Regions from separate parts of the Homo sapiens genome. Here regions 2, 3, 4, 5 and 6 are each linked to region 1. The links are contacts of gene promoters, found by promoter capture Hi-C in blood cells and fetal thymus (Javierre and others, 2016). All regions are on one chromosome and are shown on one strand. Each heading gives the region's core, a stretch centred on a gene start or on the middle of the fragment in contact. The rest is flanking DNA. Distances are from core to core; before and after follow the strand shown. Region 1 holds the start of ABCA1 (ATP binding cassette subfamily A member 1). Region 2 overlaps SLC44A1 (solute carrier family 44 member 1). Region 3 overlaps SLC44A1 (solute carrier family 44 member 1). Region 4 overlaps SLC44A1 (solute carrier family 44 member 1). Region 5 overlaps LOC112268038 (a long non-coding RNA gene). Region 6 overlaps LOC112268038 (a long non-coding RNA gene).

Evidence for each region. Contacts are between HindIII fragments. The CHiCAGO score rates a contact against its expected background, and 5 or more counts as called.
Region 2: a fragment that was not itself captured here is called in contact with the fragment with the promoter of ABCA1 in region 1 in 2 of 17 cell types (naive B cells and monocytes); the score reaches 5.5 in naive B cells.
Region 3: a contact is called between a fragment that was not itself captured here and the fragment with the promoter of ABCA1 in region 1, in 3 of 17 cell types (monocytes, neutrophils and activated CD4 T cells). The highest score is 12.0, in monocytes.
Region 4: a contact is called between a fragment that was not itself captured here and the fragment with the promoter of ABCA1 in region 1, in 3 of 17 cell types (neutrophils, monocytes and M2 macrophages). The highest score is 13.0, in neutrophils.
Region 5: a contact is called between a fragment that was not itself captured here and the fragment with the promoter of ABCA1 in region 1, in 15 of 17 cell types (neutrophils, monocytes, activated CD4 T cells and 12 more). The highest score is 18.5, in neutrophils.
Region 6: a fragment that was not itself captured here is called in contact with the fragment with the promoter of ABCA1 in region 1 in 3 of 17 cell types (neutrophils, monocytes and M2 macrophages); the score reaches 13.3 in neutrophils.

Annotation. Positions count from the first base shown.
Region 1 is chr9:104,926,307-104,930,453 of GRCh38, reverse strand. ABCA1 (ATP binding cassette subfamily A member 1) reads left to right here and starts at 2,299. Exons shown (of 50, transcript NM_005502.4): 1 at 2,299-2,519. It overlaps LOC105376196 (a long non-coding RNA gene), which reads right to left and starts at 3,665. Exons shown (of 3, transcript NR_188620.1): 1 at 2,544-3,665; 2 at 730-946. RefSeq lists silencers at 2,140-2,329, 3,666-3,905 and enhancers at 2,530-2,609, 2,930-2,989. The HindIII fragment of the contact is 9,744 bases long and covers 1-4,147 here.
Region 2 is chr9:105,316,485-105,320,631 of GRCh38, reverse strand. The region is part of intron 3 of SLC44A1 (solute carrier family 44 member 1); the gene reads right to left. Among named protein-coding and RNA genes, the nearest start is that of SLC44A1, 74 kb to the right of the region's middle. The HindIII fragment of the contact is 1,375 bases long and covers 1,643-3,017 here.
Region 3 is chr9:105,297,358-105,301,504 of GRCh38, reverse strand. SLC44A1 (solute carrier family 44 member 1) reads right to left here. Exons shown (of 16, transcript NM_080546.5): 2 at 2,196-2,285. Among named protein-coding and RNA genes, the nearest start is that of SLC44A1, 55 kb to the right of the region's middle. RefSeq lists an enhancer at 1,330-2,529. The HindIII fragment of the contact is 7,345 bases long and covers 1-4,147 here.
Region 4 is chr9:105,270,825-105,274,971 of GRCh38, reverse strand. The region is part of intron 1 of SLC44A1 (solute carrier family 44 member 1); the gene reads right to left. Among named protein-coding and RNA genes, the nearest start is that of SLC44A1, 28 kb to the right of the region's middle. The HindIII fragment of the contact is 5,424 bases long and covers 1-4,147 here.
Region 5 is chr9:105,236,248-105,240,394 of GRCh38, reverse strand. All of the region lies in intron 1 of LOC112268038 (a long non-coding RNA gene), which reads left to right. Among named protein-coding and RNA genes, the nearest start is that of SLC44A1, 6.3 kb to the left of the region's middle. The HindIII fragment of the contact is 2,282 bases long and covers 811-3,092 here.
Region 6 is chr9:105,195,129-105,199,275 of GRCh38, reverse strand. LOC112268038 (a long non-coding RNA gene) reads left to right here. Exons shown (of 3, transcript XR_002956866.2): 3 at 1-4,028. Among named protein-coding and RNA genes, the nearest start is that of SLC44A1, 47 kb to the left of the region's middle. The HindIII fragment of the contact is 3,532 bases long and covers 484-4,015 here.

The DNA of each region.
Region 1 (4,147 bases), core at 1,050-3,549:
ACACTGAGCCATGATTGGATCACTGCACTCCAGCCTGGGTAGACAGAGCAAGACCCTGTCTCAAAAAAAAGAAATGAAAGAGAAAGAAAGAAAGAGGAGAGGAGAGGAGATGAGGGGAGGGGAGGGGAGGAGGGAGGGGGGGAGGAAGGAAGGAAGGAAGGAAGGAAAAAAAGATGAAAAAAGAAAAAAACAAGATGAAACAGAGGCAGAAAGACTTTACGTAAATTGCTCATCATGTGGTTGTCAAGTTTGACCCCAAAACCCAATTTATTGACCAAGGTTATTCTTTGACTGAGGCAAGGGGGTCCGCTCTCCTGGGCCTTGGGCTTTAGAAAGCTCATCTCTGGCCTTTCTGAGATCCATCCCTTTCTTTTTATTTTTCTTGACACGGAGTCTTGCTCTGTCACTCAGGCTGGAGTGCAGTGGCATGATCTCGACTCACTGTAACCTCTGCCTCCCGGGTTCAAGCGATTCTCCTGCCTCAGCCTCCTGAGATAACAGGCGCTCGCCACCACATCTGGCTAATTTTTGTATTTTTAGTAAAGACTGGGTTTCATCATGTTGGCCAGGTTGGTTTCGAACTCCTGACCTGAGGTGAGCTGCCCACCTTGGCCTCCCAAAGTGCTGGGATTACAGGCATGAGCCACTGCGCCCAGCTCAGATCCATCCCTTTCTAAGGGCAAACAGTCCATGGTGCAAAGGGGCCATGCCACCCAGAGTTATGAGTACCTGGGACTCCAGAATTCCTTGCCTGGTGGCCTCCACATGCACTTCCAGGGCCTGCTTGGGCCTCTTCTATGGGTCTGTCCTGAGTGTTGATAGAACCACTGATGTGAGTACCTGGGCTTGAGCCGTGGCCTGGAGATCCTGTTGACTGTAGCATGGAGGGGGCTTGTGCAGCTGAATGTCTGTATGCAGGTGGTGGGAGTTCTGGAATATGATGGAGCTGGAGGTGGGAAGAGAAGTAGGCTTGGGGCAGCTCTCTCATGCCACCTCATTCTGGCCAAAACTCAGGTCAAACTGTGAAGAGTCTAAATGTGAATCTGCCCTTCAAGGTGGCTACAAAGGTATCTTTGTCAAGGTAGGAGACCTTGTGGCCTCCACGTGCACTTCCAGGGCCTGCTTGGGCCTCTTCTACGGGTCTGTCCTGAGTCTTCTATGAATCTGCCCTTCAGGGCAGATTCATATTTAGACTCTTCACAGTTTGACCTGAGTTTTGGCCAGAATAAGGTGACATTTAGTTTGTTGGCTTGATGGATGACTTAAATATTTAGACATATGGTGTGTAGGCCTGCATTCCTACTCTTGCCTTTTTTTTTGCCCCTCCAGTGTTTTGGGTAGTTTTGCTCCCCTACAGCCAAAGGCAAACAGATAAGTTGGAGGTCTGGAGTGGCTACATAATTTTACACGACTGCAATTCTCTGGCTGCACTTCACAAATGTATACAAACTAAATACAAGTCCTGTGTTTTTATCACAGGGAGGCTGATCAATATAATGAAATTAAAAGGGGGCTGGTCCATATTGTTCTGTGTTTTTGTTTGTTTGTTTCTTTTTTTGTTTTTGTGGCCTCCTTCCTCTCAATTTATGAAGAGAAGCAGTAAGATGTTCCTCTCGGGTCCTCTGAGGGACCTGGGGAGCTCAGGCTGGGAATCTCCAAGGCAGTAGGTCGCCTATCAAAAATCAAAGTCCAGGTTTGTGGGGGGAAAACAAAAGCAGCCCATTACCCAGAGGACTGTCCGCCTTCCCCTCACCCCAGCCTAGGCCTTTGAAAGGAAACAAAAGACAAGACAAAATGATTGGCGTCCTGAGGGAGATTCAGCCTAGAGCTCTCTCTCCCCCAATCCCTCCCTCCGGCTGAGGAAACTAACAAAGGAAAAAAAAATTGCGGAAAGCAGGATTTAGAGGAAGCAAATTCCACTGGTGCCCTTGGCTGCCGGGAACGTGGACTAGAGAGTCTGCGGCGCAGCCCCGAGCCCAGCGCTTCCCGCGCGTCTTAGGCCGGCGGGCCCGGGCGGGGGAAGGGGACGCAGACCGCGGACCCTAAGACACCTGCTGTACCCTCCACCCCCACCCCACCCACCTCCCCCCAACTCCCTAGATGTGTCGTGGGCGGCTGAACGTCGCCCGTTTAAGGGGCGGGCCCCGGCTCCACGTGCTTTCTGCTGAGTGACTGAACTACATAAACAGAGGCCGGGAACGGGGCGGGGAGGAGGGAGAGCACAGGCTTTGACCGATAGTAACCTCTGCGCTCGGTGCAGCCGAATCTATAAAAGGAACTAGTCCCGGCAAAAACCCCGTAATTGCGAGCGAGAGTGAGTGGGGCCGGGACCCGCAGAGCCGAGCCGACCCTTCTCTCCCGGGCTGCGGCAGGGCAGGGCGGGGAGCTCCGCGCACCAACAGAGCCGGTTCTCAGGGCGCTTTGCTCCTTGTTTTTTCCCCGGTTCTGTTTTCTCCCCTTCTCCGGAAGGCTTGTCAAGGGGTAGGAGAAAGAGACGCAAACACAAAAGTGGAAAACAGGTAAGAGGCTCTCCAGTGACTTACTTGGGCGTTATTGTTTTGTTTCGAGGCCAAGGAGGCTTCGGGAAGTGCTCGGTTTCGGGGACTTTGATCCGGAGCCCCACATCCCCACCACTTGCAACTCAGATGGGACCGGAGGCGGTGTTAAATGGGGAGACGATGTCCTAGTACGAGCTCTGGTGACCCCAGGACTCTGCGCTGCTGCGCTTGGGGCTTGCCCGACGGTGGAGACCGGGGAGCATCTCTGGGCGTGGAGACCCGGGCGCAGTACCCCGGGCTCAGAGGGGTCGGGGGTTCCCGGGCGTGCTGAGGGCGCTGCTGCCGGGTGGGGAGAGCTGCAGGTCCGGCACCGAGCGCTGCTTTGTTCGGAGGGCCCTGAGCTGGCTAGAAACCCTTCTGGTTGCAGGTCGGCCAGTACCTACGGAGACAAATGCCAGCACTGAGTCTTCACTCGGTTCTTAAGAAGCTGGTCTGTTCTGACCTGGGAATTGGCTATATGCTCCCCGGGACTGGAGCGGCACAGTCCCGGACTGTGAATCCGGGAACTCGAGTTGGAGGTGTCCCAAACGGTCCGTGGTGCTATTGCTCACTAGAGGCCTTGGGTCTTTGTTTGACCTGAGGGGTAGGGAGGTCCTGCCTACAGTCTCCGTGCGCTCAGCTGAGCTGGTGTCCCTGGCGCAGAGCGCGGACGAGTTTTGTTTCCTTTTCTTTTTCTTTTTTTTCTTTCCTTTAAGTCTCGGTCTGTCGCCCAGGCTGGAGTGCAATGGAACGATCTCCGCTCACTGCAACCTCCGCCTCCCGGGTTCAAGCGATTCTCCTGCCTCAGCCTCCTGAGTAGCTGGGATTACAGGCGCGTCACCACATCCAGCTAATTTTTGTATTTTTAGTAGAGACGGGGTTTCAACTTGTTGGCCAGGCTGGTCTCGAACCCTCGACCTCAGGTGATCCACCGGCCTCGGCCTCCCCAAGTGCTGGGATTATAGGCGTGAGCCACCGCGCGCGGCCGAGTTTTGTTTCTTTTAAAAACAAGACTTAGGAGAGCCTGCGGAGACCCGGAGGTGGGGTGCCCAATCCTCCCTCTCCCACGTTCCCTGCAGCCCCATCTTCCAGACCGTTGCTGCTGGTCTCTCGGGGCAGCTTCTGCCTGGGCGCAGATGGGGAAGCTGGGCCGAGGTGGTGCCGTGGAATGACCGGGAGTAACCCCGGCGGGCGGCGCAGAACTCGGAGCTCCGCCGCGGGGCTGGGCTGGGCTCTGCCGTGAGGGTGGGGGTGCTGGGCGCGCGGGCTGCGGTGGCCCCCGGAGACTGGCCCGCAGCGCCTCCTGGCCGGAGGACCTAGGAATCGGCCGGCTCTACTAGGTGTCTTTGCTCGCGGTTCCGACTGTGAATCCGGTGAAGACCGGTGGTTGCAGACGGGGAGGAACTATGAGGTTGAGGCGAAAGCCCGTTTTGTTTTTTTTTTTTTGTTTTTTTGGTTTTTTTTTTTGTTAGCGTGTTTGCCAACTCCCAGGCCATTGGTAAAGCAGGAAGGTTCTTGGGGCGGCGGACGGTGCCAGGGTTATGTGTAGGTGCCTCTTTAGGTATATCTTTTATCAAAAAGAAGCAAAGAAATAAGATTAAAAATAAACA
Region 2 (4,147 bases), core at 1,081-3,580, 390 kb before region 1:
GGCACTCCAAACTGTGCAACATAGTGAGATCCTATCTCTAAAAAAAATAAAATAAAATAAAATGTAACAAATAACAAAAAGTCTCATAATACAAAATGTTAGGAGGAAGTGAAGCAAATATAACCCTCCTACTATTGTAGTGGGAATGCAAAATAGTGCAGCAACCACTTTGGGAAACAGCTTGATAATTTCTTATAAAGTTAAACATCCTCACCACATGACTCTGCAATCTCAATGCTATATATCTAACTCTTCAAGAGTAATGAAATATATTAAATTACATACACAAATTGTTAAAGCAGTATTACTCACAATAGTAAAAAAAAAAAAAAAAAAAAAGTTAAATATTGAAATAACCCAAATGGCAAAAAACCTAGTGAACAGATAAACTGTGTTATAGCCACACAATGGAATATTTCTCAGTAATTTAAAAGGAACTAACCACTGATGTATTTAACAACATGCATGAATCTCAGTAGCATTATTATATGTTTTAAAAGGTAGACACAAAATACTACATAATATATAATTATTTGTATATGACATTCTAGAAAAAACAAAACTATACTACGAAAAGCAGATCAGTGGTTGTCTAGGGACAAGAATGGGGGCAAGGACTGACTACAAAGGGGCACAAGGTAATTTTCTAAGAGCAAAAGAAGTATGGATTGTGATGGAGGATGCATGACTGCATATAGTTACCAAATTCAAACTACACTTGAATGAGTAAATTTTACTATATGTAAGTTATAACTCAACAAAACTATAACAATGAAATATTTTTAAATTTCTTCCTGAAAATCGACTTTACAAAATCCAATTTAATTTAATGAGCCCCAGTGTGTAGTAAGAATTTAACCTTACTCAGAAAGAGATCTGGACTTTGCCCTTCACTTCTGGGAGTTAATTTCTAAGCCTTATAGGAGTGTCTTTGTTTACTTGGTGCTCTTGGGTCACAGAAGTCTAACAATGTGTTTTAGGGTTGGGGTAGACCACTCCACATACTATTTAGGGTGGGCGTCGACCACCCTAGAAAGACCAACAATGTTGTTTAGATTAAGAGTTTGGGATCACATGGTATCAAATTGACCAGAGGAGCTGGAGACTGGAGCCTGAGTCAGCCATATAATGGAGTCCCAACAAAAATTATGAACACTGAGGCTTAGGTGAGCTTCTTTGGTTAGCCATACTCTGTGTATTGTCACACACTGACACTGAGAAAGTACTGTGCTCGGACTCCGTGTACTCCACTCTCCCCAAGGGAGACAACAATGGAAGCTCTGCCCCATGCACTCCTTTTGTTGGCTGATTTTACTCTATATCCTTTCCTAAAAATAAACCATAACCATGAGTACAGTAGCGTTCAGTGAGTTCTGCAAGTCTTCCTGGCAAATAATTTGCCAGGAAATAGGTGGTTTTATGGACCCCTGATCTTGCAATTGGGGTCAGATATAAGGGTGGTTGTGTGTGGACTGTGTGCCCTCTAACTTCTTAGATGCCCTCAACTCTGACACCCAGGTAAACACAAGTGGGTGGCAAACCCACTTGATTGCCATCAAACTCATAGTTGAAGCAGTTAATAATTACCTGAAGTATATTACAAAGGTCATTGTCTATCAGCTCATGAACAATGACTAAAGCTTGTAAAAATCTTCACAGGTGTCAGGTAACCTAGAACCAACTCAAGTAGTGAGACTTCAGATTGAGCATTTGTACCAGCTGTTTAACTTAGACATGGCAAACATATACACCTAGTCAAACAACACGGAGAAAAACCAATCATCCCTTCCTTGCCGCCTAGCTGCATACATGTCATCTAATTCTGTTAAACAGGTTTTCACTTCCCTATTTAGAATTGGCAAAACATTTTGACTTTGAACTCCCGCATTTTCTAAGGTACGTAGCTGGATCTCCTCTTTCAAATTGCTCGCAGTATTTTCCACAGCAAGTATTATCCTAAAGGCAGAAATGCACTAGCAATACAGATGTTACCTTTGTAAAGAGTTTAAAAATTTAGGCTTAAGAGTAGTATGGTCACAAAATATGACAAAAAAATCTCCATAAATTTACCTTCTGAAAATTTAGTTAGCGTCTTTACAACTTCTAATATTTTCCATGAGAGGGAATGAAAGTTTAGGAAAAAAACTGTATAGGCCGGGTGTAGTGGCTCACGCCTATAATCCCAGCACTTTGGGAGGCTGAGGTGGGGGGAACATTGAGGTCAGGAGTTCAAGACTGGCCTGGCCAACATGGTGAAACTCCATCTCTACTAAAAATACAAAAATTAGCTGGGTGTGGTGGCAGGTGCTTGTGATCCCAGCTACTTGGGAGGCTAAGGCAGGAGAATCTATTGAACTCGGGAGGCGGAGGTTGCAGTGAGCTGAGATCTTGCCCATTGCACTCCAGCCTGGGTGACAGGGCGAGACTCCATCTCAAAAAACAAACAAACAAAAAAACCTGTATAAATAATACAATAAGTTTTCATTTAGAACGTCACAGATGTTACTATTTCCAAATGCTTGTAAATTTGGGAGGAAATAAGTTCTCAAATACAAGTTTATGTGAGGTATCTATCTAGGCTGCTCTTTTCCACTTTATGCTAAAGTGGGAGTGACAGTAGGTTAGAGTTAGAATCAGAGAGTACTGACAGGAGACAGAGAGAGGAGTGCTTTCCCTCAAAGCAAAGCCAAATTCATCAAAGGCTTAGAGCATCTCCATTTGTTTAAACGTATCCCTAAGTGTGGGAAGAAGTAGGTGATCTACTGGGCTGCTCTGAGGAATACCTTGACAACAGGTAGGGAGAATACTCTGTAAAACTTAAGAATTAGTCCAATGGACAAATGTATACCTCTCTTCTTCTGAGCTTCTACAACTCCACAAGATAGAGTCAGGAGTACAAGATAGAGTCAGGAGCACCTTCCTGTGTGTGCCAGTCTTCTCTGGGCTTTAGGATGGCCAACAAGAATTCCAACCTGTAGACTCAACCACACTATTCCTCAGACAGTGAGAACCAAGCTTGGTATTCTAATCAGAATTCCATCTTCACTAGAAGATGGGCTCCTGGAGCCACCTCTCAGTCCCCAAACCCTCATAACCATCTAGTCACCTCTTCGTCCAATCACCATTATGTGTACCATCCTTCCACAGCCGACTTTACTTGACTTTACCCTGATAAAATGCAAGCCCTGCCTTGAACCCCCAAAATATGACAAAAAATATTTTCAAAGACATCTCCATAAACTTACCTTCTGAAAATTTAGTTAGCATCTTTATACCTAAATGAGGCTCCAAAACTCTGCCTAAAATTACCCTGTCCCTGAAACCCTGTCACTGGCTGAGAGTCTTCAACTCATATGTACAACCTGCAACCAAGATGCTGCCCTAAGGGGAGGTCAGAGAGATTCAAGACTGAGAATCTGACCCAATTTTGCTGGAGGATGGGAGTCATGAGCCATAGAATATATGCTATAGAATATATGTTACCTCCAGAAGCTGAAACTGACTCTCAGTTTATAGCCAGCAAGGAGATAGGAACTCAGTCCTACAGCCATGTGAAACTGAATTCTGTCAATAGCCTCAATGAGCTTGGAAGAGGATTCATTCCCTAGAACCTCAAGAAAAAAATCACAGCCCTGTCAACACTTTGATTTCAGCCTTCAAAACCCACAGCAACCAGCTAAGCCATGCTGTGCACAGACTTCTGATTTACAGAACTTCGTTGTTAAAAGCAATGAATTTGCTTCAGTTTCCGATTTACAGAACTTCATTGTTTAAAGCTTCTTACTTTATGGTAATTTGTTACAGCAACATTAGGAAAGTAATACAATGGTGGTTCCAGTACTATCACCAAATTGCCTTCTTTTCCTCTCCCCACCAGCCTGCTGTTAGGAACTCAGGAAAGTGGAGTCACTCAGCTTTCAATAGACAACACTTTTACATGACATTTCATCACTGAACTGTCATAATTTCTCTATGTATTTTGTCTTCCCCACTAGAATGCAAGGTCTTCAAGCACAGGGACTACAGATGTCTTTTTATCCTTTTTTTCCATTACCCAAGTAATGTATATATCGATTATAGAAAACTTAGGAAAAAAGAGATAAGTATAAAATTAAAACCATCCATAATTCAACAGCTAATCACACTG
Region 3 (4,147 bases), core at 678-3,177, 370 kb before region 1:
TGTGCCAAGGAATAGAACTTTGAGATTTCTTATTTCCACATGGCAAAATACGATGTTAGCTCAATTCCATGAAGGTAGTAATCCATTAAAGGAATCATTCGAAAACAAATAATGCTATGCCAACATTTAAAAGTACACACAGTGGGTCTTAATTACCATCATACTGAAATCAACATTATATTAATTACCATTGCATTAAAATGTTTCAGTAAACAAATAACTCCTTAGTCTCAAGTCACTCCCAAATCAGCCTATTAACATTAATGATTGCACTTTCCTGACCTGTTTTAGCACAGAAAATCCAAAGCACCTCGGGTGGCATGGTACATGTTTTTGTAAACAATTTTGAAAGGTCAGCTGCTATTTGTCCCAGGGTTACATTCAGGGAGTGGGGAAAGGCTGTGGACTAATTCTGTTATCAAAGAATCTTTCTATGGCAGGGTGCGGTGGCTCACGCCTGTAATCCCAGCACTTTGGGAGGCCGAGATGGGTGGATCACCTGAGGTCAGGAGTTTGAGATCAGCCTGGCCAACACGGTGAAACCCCATCTAAAAATTCAAAATTAGCTGGGCGTGGTGGTACATGCCTGTAATCCCAGCTACTTGGGAGGCTGTGTAAGGAGAATCACTTGAACCTGGGAGGTGGAGGTTGCAGTGAGCCGAGATCACACCATGCACTCCAGCATGGGCAACAAGAGCAAAATTCTGTCTCAAAAAAAAAAAAAAATTTTTTTTCTCCACACGCTGCATAAACATTCATGCATGTTATATTTCAGCTGCCATTCCATTAAACTAAGTAAACTTTTGAGCAATATCTTTTAAGTCATTAAGTTAGGAGATGAGTATTTTGACCTTTCCTAAATATCCTAAATTTGGTGAAACGGTGCTTTTATCTTTAAAATAAACACTCCTTATTTTACTGGATTTATCGTATCTCATTAAAATGTATTGCTTTCTTTTCCTTTTCTCAGAGGCAGAACTGGTACCTACAATTGTGCCTATTAGCCAAGATGACAGTTGTTCTGTGATTCACAAATGGCGCTGGCCTGGTGGGCAGTCAGAGGAGACAAAGAGCAAGATTTTCATAAAGAAACTCTATAAAAGGTATAGTAAGAAGGGGGTTAAAAATACACATGAGTAGGAACAAGGCTGCCTGAGGTAGTGTAATTGCATTTTGAATTGTAGAAGACTAAGAAAGAGAGAGCAATAATGTATCTGCAGAGTCCCCTTGAGGAAGAGGAAATGGGGTGTTAGAAAACAGCATTGATCTGGAAGTGAACAGACCTGGGCTCTGTTCTCAGCTCTGTCATGAACTAGCAGTGTGGCCTTGGGATAGTAATTTCCATCTCTGAGTTTGATGTTTTTAATCTGTAAAATAAGGGCGATGGACTAGATGAGGATTTCCATGTCCTTTCTACTTCTAAATATCAGACCGCTTTAAAAATAGCAGTTTTCTATGTTTTTTCCAGCCCAGCACACTGGCAGGGACTCTAATGCCACTGAAGTCTGTGTCAGAAACTCCTGTAGGGCAGAGTGAGTATGCAATTGAATGTGCACATCCTTAATACCTTATACCAGCAACTCTGCTCCTCCATTCTCTATACCCACTGGAAAATCACCAGGTCCCTTGATCTCTAATTGAAAGATGCCACTCATTACAGCAGACACAGCAGGCAGCAGGGGCCGTTGGAAAACCACCAGGTCCCTTCATCTCCAATCGAAAGATGCCACTCATTACAGCAGACACAGAAGGCAGCAGGGGCCTAGGACAGGCAGAAGGAGGAAGGAGCAGTGAGCAACCAGCCTCCCATCTAGGAAGAACTGTGGAACACCAAGTCCCTGAGAGGAAATGACTGCCCTAAAGATAACCAACAAGTTGGTGTGACTGGGTTGGGTGAATATGCAGGGCTCATGACTCATGGTCACTGTTTTGCTCACCACTCTATCAAGATCAACATTCAGAGACTTACGTCAAATGATTTGCTTTCTGAAATGGTCTATTGAATGGCATATGAGTCCCAGCTGCTCCTTAATTTGAGCTCAGTTTTCATGTAGAAAAACAAATCAAGAGTGACACAAAATACCACTGAATTGTATGAGGACTGGTATATTCCACAACTGCCCTCATTAAAACAACTACTCGTCATTCCCTTGGATCATGAGTCCAGTTTGGACCATCTGTGAGAGTTTCCTTACCATCCCAATGCAGAAGAGGATGAAGAGCAGCAGCCATGGTATGTCTGTGCAGCTACGGTCCTCCAGCGGCTTCCATTCTCGTTTGGAGCTCTAATTGGAAATACAAAATAAGAGAGTGTTAAATGCTAAGTTTAGTTAAAGTTAGAAGGGCACAAATACACCAGCTATAGCTAGAGCCCTTCTTTGCCAAACAAGTTTCTATTGAACCTTTAAGACACAACTCAAATATTTGTCACCTTTTCTGTGACGTTTATGCTAACCCCCACAGCTAATAACTCCACTGGCCCTACTCCCACCCCTCTTCCTGGCCAGGCCCGGTACTGAGTTCATCGCTTTTTTGGTACCTGTATTAGAGTTTTTAGCAGGCTAAATTGTCATTCTTATTTGTTATGCTGTGTCCCAGCAGACTGTGAGTGTCATAAGGAAGAGACCAGGCTTATTTCTCGGCATCTAACATGATGCCTGAGGGTTCATAATATGTACTCAGTGAGGGCTTTTTAAAAATGAATAAATAAATGAATACACTCTTCCAACTTCACTCTTAATGCTAGCTTTTTCTTTGTGTGTCCAGATGCTAAACTTAAAAAAAAAGTTAGAATGTGCTGTTTATATATATGTTCTCTTCTAGGAAAGATGCCCATCAAAATGGATTCCTATTCAGGCCGGGCCCAGTGGCTCACATCTGTAATCCCAGCACTTTGGGAGGCCGAGGCGGGCAGATCACCTGAGGTCAGGAGTTTGAGACCAGCCTGGCCAACATGGCGAAACCCCGTCTCTACTAAAAATACAAACATTAGCTGGGCGTGGTGGTGGGCTGTAATTCCAGCTACTCGGGAGGCTGAGGCAGGAGAACCGCTTGAATTCAAGAGGCGGAGGTTGCAGTGAGCCAAGATCGTGCCACTGCACTCCAGCCTGGGCAACAAGAGCAAAACTCCATCTCAAAAACAAACAAACAACAACAACAACAACAACAAAAACGGGATTCCTATTCAGGGGTAGATTTATCTAAGTCAAAAAAAAATTCAGTTTCTATAGACAGATCTGTGCAGCTCCTAAACAATCCATGCATTTTCATCTTGTTCCTAGAAAATGTTAGTTTCTAGATCAAACACAGAGAATCCTGAACTACAGAACTAGCGGCATTCTAAAAGTTAACTTGCAAAGTATTGACTGGAATTCCAACTGCATTTTTTTTTTTCTTATTTCAATAGTCTTAGGATCTCGGGTCAGCTCACAAATCCCTTTTAATGGAAATCTAACTGAAATAACCCCCCTGAGCTTTCTAATGAACAAAAATGCCCGAGTCTCACACCCTCTCCTGGAAACAGTAAGCAGTGAAGGGAGAAAGAAGGTATCCTTGGAAAACCTATGGGAAAGGTTCCTCTGAGAAGGTTCAGGCCTCCAGTGGCTTCCGTGACAAGATCCAGGAAGCTATTTGGAAAAGTCTTGTCAGGAGGAAAGGGCATGAGCAGGAGGGGGCTGGAGATAAGGGAGCCCTCTGGTACAATTAGTATATATAGAGTGCAACCAGGCTTAGTTCTCTCTCCCTCTAAAACCATAGTGTTGAACTATGTATCCTTTGATAACCTGATGAAAACTACAGATTCTTTTCTTAATATGTAAGCACAGGCCAGGCATGGTGGCTCATGCCTGTAATCCCAGCACTTTGGGTTGCCGAGGCGGGCGATCACCTGAGGTCGGGAGCTCGAGACCAGTCTGACCAACATGGAGAAACCCCGTCTCTACTAAAAATACAAAGTTAAACGGGTGTGGTGGTGCATGCCAGTAATCCCAGCTACTTGGGAGGCTGAGGCAGGAAAATCGCTTGAACCCGGGAGGCGGAGGTTGTGGTAAGCCAAAATCGCGCCATTGCACTCCAGCCTGAGCAACAAGAGCGCAACTCCATCTCAAAAACAAACAAAGAAAAAAAGTAAGCATATATTCACATAATT
Region 4 (4,147 bases), core at 1,072-3,571, 340 kb before region 1:
AAAAGTACAGGTGCTTACTTTTCAATAGGATCAAGGTTATGAAAGATAGAAACACCTGAGAAACTCACAGATTGGAATGGATGAGATAACTAAGAGTTCCTGGCTCTACTAAAAAGAAGCTACTACATGACACAGGCAAATCACTTAACCCTATCTATGTGTGCCTTATTTTCCTCACCTGTAACAGTTGTGAGGTTAACCACGGTATATGTAAAATACATACCACTACATATAGCAAATAAGTAAACAATGGATACATAGTTGTGTTACTGTTATTTACTCTACCCATACTGTTCAACAATATGTTATTAAATTCTGGGCAGAAGAACTTGTTTCATGATCAGAATGATAGGTCCTCATCCTATGCTTTAAAAGATTCAATATTTCTATAGGTAGGTGACATGAAACACTTAGTTAACAATAGCCAAGGTAATTTATGCTGTGTTCAGAGAAGGAGGTGGTCAGTGTGGACTGAAGAGGAAGGCTTCTTGAAAGGAGGGAATATGAACTGGCTCATCAGGATAGGATTCAGATAGGAGGAAGAAAAATTCCAAACAAGAACATCATAAGTAAAAGCAGTGAGGCAGGAGTGAAGACGCTCATTCAAAAAGGCCAATACACCTCCACGAGTACAATTCTTGTTCAGTGACAAAGGCCAGATGAGTAAACTGAGGGCACAGTCCAGGGGTAACTTTGAATCTAATGCTGATAGAAAAGATATATTGCAAAATAGAATCAAAGCGGAAAAGGAGTAGCTTCATATTGCTTAAGGGGAACATCTGGTAAAATGCGAATTAGTGGTTTATCTAGTGAATGAATGAAGAGTTTGCTATAATGAGCATAAGCAAAACCTCACAGATGGATATATCCTTTACTGGTTTTTTTATTGGCTTTATTCACTACTTTTCCCTCTAACATCAGTGTCAGTATTACTACCCTACCCTGTCTTTAAGTACCATGAAACATATTTATATGCATAAAGAAATAATAACCTACAGAACTATCACATTCATTAACATGTGACTGTGTGGGTGTGTAAAAGCAGAAGACAACAGGGTGGAAGATTCCTTGCAACTTAGAAATGCTGTTTGATCTCTAAAGAGCATCACAGCCAGGGAAAGTAGATTATTATTAATCCTACTAAGAGAAAAAAAACTCAGACACATATTGTTGAGGAAAAAAGCAAAAACAGTGATTTTAGAGCAATACAAAACTGCTTAATGAAGTATGATACGGCTATGTACAATGGTATGAACTGTCACTGCTCTGTGACTGCAGGTAAAAAAAAAAACTCAGACAATATACTCAGAACATAACATTTGCTAGTAATGGACTCACATCTTCAAGATTCCTACTGCTTGAATGAAATTCACTCAGTTGCAATTTTACACAAATCATCCACCATGAAATGATATAAGAGCCCAGCATCCTGAGTTTACATGTGAATTTTTCAAATCAATCCTGTTCAATAAGAACTAGAAAAAAGCAAAAAAGGAAAAATACAGCTTGTAAGCATTAATAAAAGCCAAATGTAATCCATTCATCTCCACAGTCTACATGAACCATGTTGACAATAAGGAATAACATCCACCCCCTTCTAATTCACCAATAACTCTATGTTTTAGAAATAGATTTTGGTCACTCATACTCTAATCAAACTTACTGTAATAAAAATTATCGGGCTGGGCGCAGTGGCCCATGCCTGTAATCCTAGCACTTTGGGAGGCCGAAGCAGGTGGATCACCCGAGGTCGGGAGTTCGAGATGAGCCTGGCCAACATGACAAAACCCTGTCTCTACTAAAAACACAAAAATTAGCCAGGTGTACTGGTGGGCACCTGTAATCCCAGCTACTAGGGAGGCTGAGGCAGGAGAATTGCTTGAACCTGGGAGGCGGAGGTTGCAGTGAGCCAAGATCGCGCCACTACATTCCAGCCTGGGTGACAGAGCAAGACTTCATCTCAAGGAAGAAAAAAAAAATTATATATACATACATATATATATATATATGAAAGAAAATTAAACGTACTGAAATTATTTTAACATTATACTTACTGTGGCATAAAATAATATTTACTTTTCTTTTTATTACCTACTTTCATGCATGTGTCACAAGAAAGGCCAGAGGCTTTGAATTTGCTTATATCCCTTAGCAGATGAGGAGACCTACTTTCAGCATTTGTGCTAGACAATGCTACACAAATTGAATTTTTTCAACTGACCAGTAGGCCATTCATCAACCTTAAGTGGAATTTGGGATACCTAAAAAATAGAGGAAAGAAAATAATATAAGACCTGTGTTCTAATTCCAACTCATTTGCTTACTAGCTAAATAATCTTAGACCTTTAACCTTTATGAATCAGCTTTTTCACCTGTAAAGAGAATAGTGATACCTAATACATACGGCTTTTTTTTTTTTCTCTCAGCCTTTCTCAAAGGTATATAAGTTTGTTCTTGATGGTGGTTCCAGATTTTCTGCATTGAGGGACACACGCAGTTCTCTGATTGGAAGGAGGTACAAGAACATGCCTCTGCATAGCACTGCATTGAAGATTATGAAAAGATTAACTGTCCTATCAAAGAATGGGGACTTGATGGAGATACTGAGGAGTTAAATATCTCCCAAGCCCCTCTCCTTGATCCCAAGACTGCCTGTTGTGGTGATTACATATTACAAAAAGGAAAAGTGAGGTAGGAGATATAAAGAAGACAAAAAAATGAATATCTACAGTACAGACTCATATAAGGTGTACAATTAAAAAAGTTATGTATTTTCTCCTTTTGATTAATTCAGTAGAAAGAGTCCAGGCTTCTAGATTTTCTTGGGAAAATTAAACCATTTTATCAGAATTCAATTCAACTCAACTTTGAACTCTTATTATGTGCAAGCTACTCTATTAGATACTGTTGAAGATGAGGAAAAAATAAAAACAGACTCTTGCTTTCAACTAGTATGTAAAACATAACAAAATAATTTCTACACCAGAGAAACAAAAATATTATGAGACCAAAGTACAGACTTCCATAACCCTAGAACTAGCATTTAAGATCACAATCAGGCCAGGCGCAGTGGCTCACGCCTGTAATCCCAGCACTTTGGGAGGTCGAGGCAGGAGGATCACCTGAGGTCAGGAGTTTGAGACCAGCCTGGCCAACATAGCGAAACCCCGTCTCTACTAAAACTACAAAAATTAGCCAGGCGTGATGGCAGGTGTCTATAATCCCAGCTACCTGGGAGGCTGAGGCAGGAGAATCACTTGAACCTGGGAGGTGGAGGTTGCCGTGTGCTGAGATTGCACCACTGCACTCCAGCCTGGGTGACAGAGTGAGACTCTGTCTGAAAGAAAAAAAAGAAAAAGATCACAATCTACCTTTCTGGCCAGACTTCACACTAGAGATAAACACACACTCCAGCCATCCCAAACCACTTTTGCCAAACACATTACACATTTCACACTTCTATGTGTTTGCTCGTACCATTCCCGCAGACTAGAGTTCCTTTACTGATATTCCAACGAAGTCATTATTCATCCTTTAAGACCAAATTCCATTCCTTTTCCTTCCACCCACTTGGAATTAAGGGAGGTAATTTAGGGGGAAAAAAAGATACAAGGGAACATAGGAGAGGAATGAAAGATTCTGTACCAGAGGAGCAATAAGATAAATGAGAGTAAGGGTTTGTCAGAACCTTCTAGAAAACCATCATTCCATGCTATACAGAAAATTAACAAGCCTAACAAGGTCTGACAGCAGGAATCCAAGAGGTGAGAGAAAACCTGTCAAGATTATGGGATAACAAGAAAACCTGCAGCAGAAATTTGAGAAATGTGTCCAGGAATTATAAAACAGAAGGACTTAAAGCCACGCTTGGTCTTTTCATCTATTATTCCAACAGGAAAGAAGCGTGTGAAAGTTAACCACTGATTACATAGATGGCATCAAAGAATAGAATTTAGTTTTTACCGTTTTAAGATGCTGCAAAGATTAAGCACTTAACCCTAGAAGAGGGAACCTAATTAAGTCTGGAAGAATGCCTTTGTTCAGAAACGCCTGTCTCATCCAAAGGGCTCTGAACTAAAAATAGAGAGGTAGAAAGAAACAATGTAAGTTGATACAATTACTGCATCATTCATTCAACAAACATTGA
Region 5 (4,147 bases), core at 702-3,201, 310 kb before region 1:
AGGAAAGCTTATCTTAAATATTAGATTACTACTTTTTAAAATACTTGTTGTTGCTGTTGTTTTACTGTAAAACTTCTGGTATAAAATAGGTTTATTTTTCTGGCTGGGCACAGTGGCTCATACCTGTAATCCCAGCACTTTGGGAGGCTGAGGCAGGCAGATCTCTTGAGCTCATGAGTTCAAGACCAGCCTAGGCAACATGGCGAAATCCTGTCTCTACAAAATATACAAAAATTAGCCGAGCGTCGTGGTGTGCATCTGTAGTCCCAGCTACTCAGGAGGCTGAAGATGGGAAGATGGCTTGAGCCTGGGAGGCAGAGGTTGCAGTAAGCCAAGATGGCACCACTGCACTGCAGCCTAGGCAATAGAGCCAAATTTTGTCAAAAAATAATAATAATAATAATTTTTCTAATATTGGAATTATAAAAGGCTTTTCTTTGGATAACACTAACCTAATACCATAGTAAAAGACAGATAGGATTAACTACATAAACATTTTAAAACTCCTACATGCAAAAGATACTACAAAATGAATACAAATGACAAAGAGATAAATAATACTTGCAAAGTCTATGTAAAGGTTTACATAATACACAAGAAGCTCCTATTTAAAACCAAAAGAAAAAAGAAAAAAAAACCCACTCCACAGAAATATGAGTAAAGGACATAACAGACAAAATCCACAGTGAAAGAAATACAAGAACTAATAAAACGTGAAATGTTGCTCAGCCTTACTAATAATAAAACTGTAAGCTTAAAAATTAGGAGACATCATTCCTCACCTAGCAAATTGGCAAAGATTTAAAAGCTTAATAATAACCAGTGTGAGAGAAGGTCACAGTACTCTATACATGATTAATGGTGATATAAATAGTTACCCTCTTTCTGGGGAGAAGTTTAAGAATTTGTATCAAAATGTAAAAGGTGTATTCTTTTAACCCAGCAGTTCTTACCCTGAGAATATCCAACAGCAATACAGTTTTGTTTTTAATAAGGACAAATTGAGAGAAAACTAAATTTCCATAAACAGAAGATTGGTTAAGTAATTGCTTAAATAATAGGAAGCACTATGCAACTGTTAAAAAGTAAGAGCAATCTGTATTTAATGACATGGGCTATGCATAACTAAAATATACCATCAACTAAAAACAGTAGTTTACAAAACAGGATTATGATGGAATCCTGTTCATGTCAATCGTTGTGTGTGTGTGATGTAAACTGTGTGTGCACAAGCACGTGTGTGCATGTTTGTGTAGATGAGGTTGTGAGGAATATGTACCAATCTGTTAACAGCAGTAACCTTTGGAGAAGAGGTGGGGATAAATCGTGGTGAAATAGAACCAGACAGAAGAGAGACATGTTCTGAATTATAACTTTTGAATTTTTTGTAGTTTTGACAAAAGCATGTACTTAAAAAAACTATATTTAAATATTTTAATATTATAAAACATTTTATTTTATTAAGGACAGGGAGGGGGTTCTCCTGAATGACCTGTTAATCATGAAGAACATATACAGTGTCCAGAGTACAGGGAAAGAACAGGTCACAAATGCAATGATTAGGAAAGGCTTCATAAATTGTGTTTCAGCTGGTCCTTAACACGTAGCTTTGGATAAGTGAAGATGATGGGAGAAAAAGAGAACTCTCAGGTATAAAATGACTTAAGCAAAGGTGCAGGCTTAGAAATCAATAAGATCTATTGCATGTTCCAGTTATCTGTTGTTGTATCCCAAACCAAACTAAAACTTGATGACTTAAAACAACAGCAGTCATCAACTCTCACCATTGGGGGAACAGAGTAGGCTCAGCTAAGCGGTTCTCGCTTGAGGGTTGTCAGGTGATTGCAGTTAGCTATGAGGCAGGAGTTATCTTGAAGTTTACTCATGCCCGGAGGTTGATACTAACTGTTTGCCATCAGCCAGAATACCTACTTGGAGCCTTGCCACATGACCTGGGTTTCCTCACAGCTTGGTAGCTGAGTTCTAAGGGTGAGCATCTTTTTTTTTTAATTATTTTTATTTTTATTTATTTTATTATTATTATTTTTTTGAGACAGTCTCACTGTCACCCAAGCTGGAGTGCAAAGGCACAATCTGGGCTCACTGCAACCTCCACCTCCTGGGTTCAAGCAATTCTCCTGCCTCAGCCTCCTGAGTAGCTGGAATTACAGGCACCTGCCACCACACTTTTTGTATTTTTAGTAGAGTCAGGGTTTCACCATGTTGGCCAGGCTGGTCTCAAACTCCTGATCTCAGCTAATCCACTTGCCTCGGCCTCCCAAAGTGCTGGGATTACAGGCGTGAGCCACCACGCTCGGCCAGGGTGAGCATCTTTAGAGGACCAGACTAACACTGCATTACCTTTTACTTATTTATTTATTTAATGTTATTATTATTATTATTTTGAGACAGAGTTTTGCTCTTGTTGCCCAAGCTGGAGTGCAGTGGCGTGATGTTGGATCACTGCAACCTCCACCCCCTGGGTTCATGTGATTCTTATGCCTCAGCCTCCCAAGTAGCTGGGATTACACGCATGTGCCATCACGCCTAGCTAATTTTTTGTATTTTTTAGTAGAGATGGGTTTTCACCATATTGGCCAGGCTGGTCTTGAACTCCTGACCTCAGGCGATTTGCCCACCTCAGCCTCCCAAAGTGCTGGGATTACAGGTGTGAGCCACCGTGGCCAGCCTGCATTACCTTTTATAACCTGGCCTCAGGTAGCACATAGCATCACTTTTGCTATAGGCACGGGCCCATTCAGATTCAAGGGAAGGGACCATCGGTGCTCTCCAAACCCTACCCTTGAGGAATTATCAATGTCACACTGTAAGAAGAACATGTAGGTTGGGAGATCTTGGCTTGAGCTCTTCTGTTTGTCACAGTTTCAAACACTCTCTAAAGTCTCTTCTGACAGGGGCCAGTTTTTCCTATCTACATTACCCTCTGGCATTCATAGGCCTTGGAATTTGTACCTCCTAACAGATAAGAGAAATTCAGAGGGTTTTGAGTAAAGTAGTAATACGGTAGGCTTTTTGCTTTAAAATGATCACTATGGTGGTATCTTACAGGGAGGACTAAAGGGAGGAAAGCTTAAACAATAAAAACAGTAGGTGTTAGAGCTATGCCCCTACTCATCAACTCTCCAATTCAGAAAAATGGTGCCTAAGTATGATTGACAGGAGTCTTCCATATTCCTTACCAAAGCCTTCAGTCTTCGGAATGCTTTCAGTGGGCCTCAATTCTTATAGAACCAGATGCTCTGTGCCTGGCAGGAAATTACTAGGCCTTGGGAAGTAATTGAACTTTTTGAGAATACCAAGGTACCACTTCGGGGATACTAACTGATATTTCTCCCACTGAGCAAAGGACATAGACTCCTTGGAAATTAAGCCTGACTTGACCACCAACTTACTCACTTCCCAAGTGCTCCAATAGTTTGTCTCCTAGTGTGGTGCTACAGAACAACATGGAGGAATGGGGAGGCAGAGCGGGCTACAGGGTCTGCACACATTGCTGGACTAGCAATTTGAAGTTTAGCTACAATCATTCCCAGCTTCCCTCAAGTCCTGTTAAGAGATTTGTGTAAGGCAATGAAAAGTGTACTATTGGCTTGGTTTTTGAAGTTTCTTTCCCTATTATTATTTTATTGGACAAACTGTCAAAATCCACCTGTTCTTTCTCAGAGATGTCCTTTCTTCCTTTTTCATTGGTGCTAGACAGAGTCGTTTTCCCTAATACTATGTAATTTAGGAGAGGCTGTGTCAATTGCATAAAATATTTCTAATCTCCATAATTAAGATGCTGCTGGTCTGACAGTTTTGCTCTCTTACTCCCCCTCAGCTAGTTGCAGGGATGTAGAAAGACATTTTAAAAGAGTACTAAAGCAAAAATGACATGCTGTTCCCCTCCCAAAGGGCCTGCTCATGACTGTCACTAGCTTCCCTATGCTCCTTCCTGGAGAGTTTCATTTATGGCTTCCTCAAAAGTAGGAAAGAGAAACTATGCTAAGGTTCTCCAGACCGTCTTCTCTCCATCCCCCAAAAATGTATACCCTGTCTTCAGTTTAAATTCAGGAGAAATCCAGATTGTCCCTTCTTTTTCTTGCTCTGTCTCCCAGGCTGGAGTGCAATGGCACGATTTTGGCTC
Region 6 (4,147 bases), core at 1,000-3,499, 270 kb before region 1:
GACAGCAGCAGCAAGACTGCAATCATTTCTGGGAAGGCAGTATCATCATAATGCAATATTAGCTACTGTGATCTTCTATCATTTCCTTCCTGGAGAGTTATGACTGTGGCATTGAAGATTTAAGACCTACAGCCTCAACACTACTTACTACAAATCTCTCACAAAGCTGCTGCAATAAATCTCGTGGAGGAAAGTCATTGCATAAAAAAATCCTCAACTCCAGGGAGTTGGCCATTTATTTTCCTAGAAAAGGGGCTGTGATGAGAGACACTCCATGCTCCTTTAACTCCATGGAACAGAACCCAACAAAACATTCATCATGGAAAGTTGACTGATGGGCCCAGTGAGACTAGCTGGGGAAGGAAGATGGAAAGAGAAGTGCCCCATCCAAGGCCTGCTCCTTTTCCTAGCTGCAGCCCGGAGGGATTTCCTCTTAGCTTGAGGATTGACTTTCCATAGAATCAGCACCACTGAGGGTAAGCTTCCCTGAAGACAAACTCTGTCATTGGAGAGCTCAGCCAGGGGTCTAAAACTGGACCCTATGGACTCCACAGATTTATTTAGTCTGCACAGTGTTTAAAAATGTTTTTAGTTAGGGCCAGGCATGGTGGCTCCCACCTGTAATCCCAGCACTTTGAGAGGCCGAGGTGGGTGGATCACCTAAGGTCAGGAGTTTGAGACCAGCCTGCCTGACATGGCAAAACCCAGTCTCTACTAAAAATACAAAAATTAGCTGGGCATGGTTGCTCAGGCCTGTAATCTCAGATACTTGGGAGGCTGAGGCACAAGAATCACTTGAACCTGGGAGGCGGAGGTTGCAGTGAGCCAAGATCGCACCATTGCACTCCAGCTTGGGTGACAAGAGTGAAACTCCATCTCAAAAAAAAAAAAAAAAGTTTCTAGTTAGTTCCCAACATAAAAAATTAACAATTTTGCAAAGAAAGATAAAATCCAGATTTTGGGCTCCCCTAAACAAATTGGGATATCTGAAAACAGTGGGCCACATTCCTACATTCCTGCCCCTGTTGACAGTATGCGCCTGCTCTAATTTTACTTCCCCTTTTACCCTAACTGCCCTGTAGGGAATGGAGTTTGCAATCCCCATACTAATCCATCACCCTGCAGGTCCATTCCCCTCCTCCCTGACCTCTGTTCTGATAAGGGGTGAGAGAATGAACCCCCATATGTATTGAATGGAAAATACATGTATTGGCCAGGCACAGCGGCTCACACTTGTAATCCCAGCACTTTGGGAGGCCAAGATGGGCAGATCACCTGAGGTCAGGAGTTCAAGACCAGCCTGGCCAATATGGCGAAACCGTGTTTCTACTAAAAATAATTTAAAAACAAAATTAGCCAGACATGATGGCAGGCGCCTATAATCCCAACTACTCAGGAGGCTGGGGCAGGAGAATCGTTTGAACCCAGGAGGCGGAGGCTGCAGTGAGCCAAGATCGCACCATGGCACACCAGCCTGGGCAACAAGACTGAAACTCCATCTCAAAAAAAATAAAAATAAAAATACATGTATTGATGAGAAAATACAACTGACTAATCCCACCTAAACCATGACCTCATATAAATTCAGAAGATCTTTCTAACATGGCAGGGAGGCAGCCTAGTATAAAGCAAAGAGCACATGCTTTGCGAATGTAAACCAAAAATAAAAGTTGAAGGCCCTCCTCACCATATGAATGGTCTCCTTCCTTTGCCAGGGCACCCTAAAATTTAACTGGTTGAGGCCATGATGGGTAGTAGGGGTTGGACATGCCTCATTATACCCTTCCAGCAGTAACATCAACACAGACTTTAAGTCTGATAAGAAACATTTACAGTCTATTTTCTCTAAAGCCTGCTACTTGGAGATATAAAACCTAGGTCTCCACAACCCCTATTGTAACCCAGCCATTTCTTTCTAATGATAATAAGTCTTTCAACCAATTGCCAATCAGAATATGTTTAAATCTTCCTATGACCTAGAAGCACCCCACTCTTTGAGTTGTCCCACCCTTCCAGATTGAACCAATGTAAATGGTTCAATTGATTGATGTGTTATATCTCCCTAAAGTGTATAAAAGGAAGCTGTACCTCAACCATCTTGGGCACGCGTCTTCAGGAACTCCTGAGTCTGTGTCACAGGTGTGTCCTTAACCTTGGCAAAGTAAACTTTCCATTACTTATAATGGCAAAAACTGCAATTACTTTTGCACCAACCTAATAAATGGATTGAGACTTGCCTCAGATACTTATTGGTTTATACCTAGAGGCAGACCTTGGCTCAAATCCCATCTCTCCCTTACTCTGGGATATTGTCCAACTTGCTCAGCCTCTTGAAACCTACTTTGCTTACAGCAAAATGGGTATAAGGGGATCTTTCACCCAAGCCTTTTGTGAGGACTAAATGTGGTAATGGACATTAAGTGCCAGACCCCTTGAATGTGCCATCTTCTCTCAGCTTCTATAATGTCATGCTGTCAGTTCCCTCCTTTTCTTTTTTTCTTTTCTTTTCTTTTTTTTTTTTTTTTTTGAGACGGAGTCTTGCTCTGTCCCCCAGGCTGGAGTGCAGTGGCACGATCTCGGCTCACTGCAAGCTCCGCCTCCCGGGTTCACGCCATTCTCCTGCCTCAGCCTTCCGAGTAGCTGGGACTACAGGCGTCCGTCACCGCGCCTGGCTAATTGTTTTTGTATTTTTCTTAGAGACTGGGTTTCACAGTGGTCTCGATCTCCTGACCTCGTGGTCCGCCCGCCTCGGCCTCCCAAAGTGCTGGGATTACAGGTGTGAGCCACCGCGCCCAGCCTAGTTCCCTCCTTTTCATGGCTTCTTTGCTTCATCTTTTCTGTCTCCTTTGAAGGTATGCCTTCCTGGAATATACCATAAATGTCAGTGTTCCTCAGGATTCTATCTTGACCTGACTCCCCCGACCCAACTGCTAGCTTTTCCCTCTGTCTAATGCTGGTACAGATACATAAACTGATAGGTAGATTACAACACAATTCGATTTTCTGTTTTGCTTTTTTTTTTGGCTTATTATTACATAAACTTTTTTTCATTGCTGCCATACATTCTTCAAAATAAACACTTCGGGGGGCGAGCTGGCCCAGCACTTTGGGAGGCCAAGGAGGTGGATCACTTCAGGTCAGGAGTTCGAGACCAGCCTGACCAACATGGTGAAACCCCCATCTCTACTAAAAATACAAAAATTAGCCGGGTGTTGGTGCAAGCACCTGTAATCTCAACTGCTCGGGAGGCTGAGGCATGAAAATCACTTGAACCCGCGAGGCAGAGGTTGCAGTGAGCCAATATAGTACCACTGTACTCCAGCCTGGGCAACAGAGCTGCGAGACCTTGTCTCAAACAAAACAAAACAAAACAAAATAAACACTTCATGGCTGAACAATATGCCATTTCCTGAATAGATTGTAATTTACCTAATCATTTCTCTAATAGTGGACACTTAGGTTGTTCTAATTTTGAAAGGCAGGAATACCAAGAATGTTTTCTTGCACATGGCAGATTATTTCTCAGTATAGGCTCATCCTTTCGAGTATATGGCATCTTTTCTTCTTTCCCTCCTCTCTCTCCTCAGAAGTACTCAAGGCCCCGGAGATACTTTGGCTGTATCCCCACCAATCTCATCTTGAATTGTAGCTCCCATGATTCCCATGTATCCTGAGAGGGACCCAGTGGGAGGTAATTGAATCATGGGGGCAGGTCTTTCCCGTGCTGTTCTAGAGATAGTGAATGAGTCTCACAAGATCTGATGGTTTTATAAAGGGCGGTTCCCCTACACAAGTTCTCTCTTGCCTGCCACTTTGCTCCTCATTTGCTCTCTGCCATGACTGTGAGCCCTCCCCAGCCATATGCAACTGTGAGTCAATTAAACCTCTTTTCTTAATAAATTACCCAGTCTCTGGTATGTCTGTATTAGCAGTGTGAGACAGACTAATACAGCCCTTATGTGTCCAGAAGTACTGACTTTCTTGGATGATACCTTAAGTAAAGCCTAATAAAGCTTTAGTGACTGATACATTTTTAAAAATGAAGTAATTATTTATGTGTAATGAGACAAATTATTTATTTCAGAGTGTTATTTGCCTTACTCTCTTCCCCCAGCAAAAGGAGTCCTCAAGTGGCCAGCCACATTTT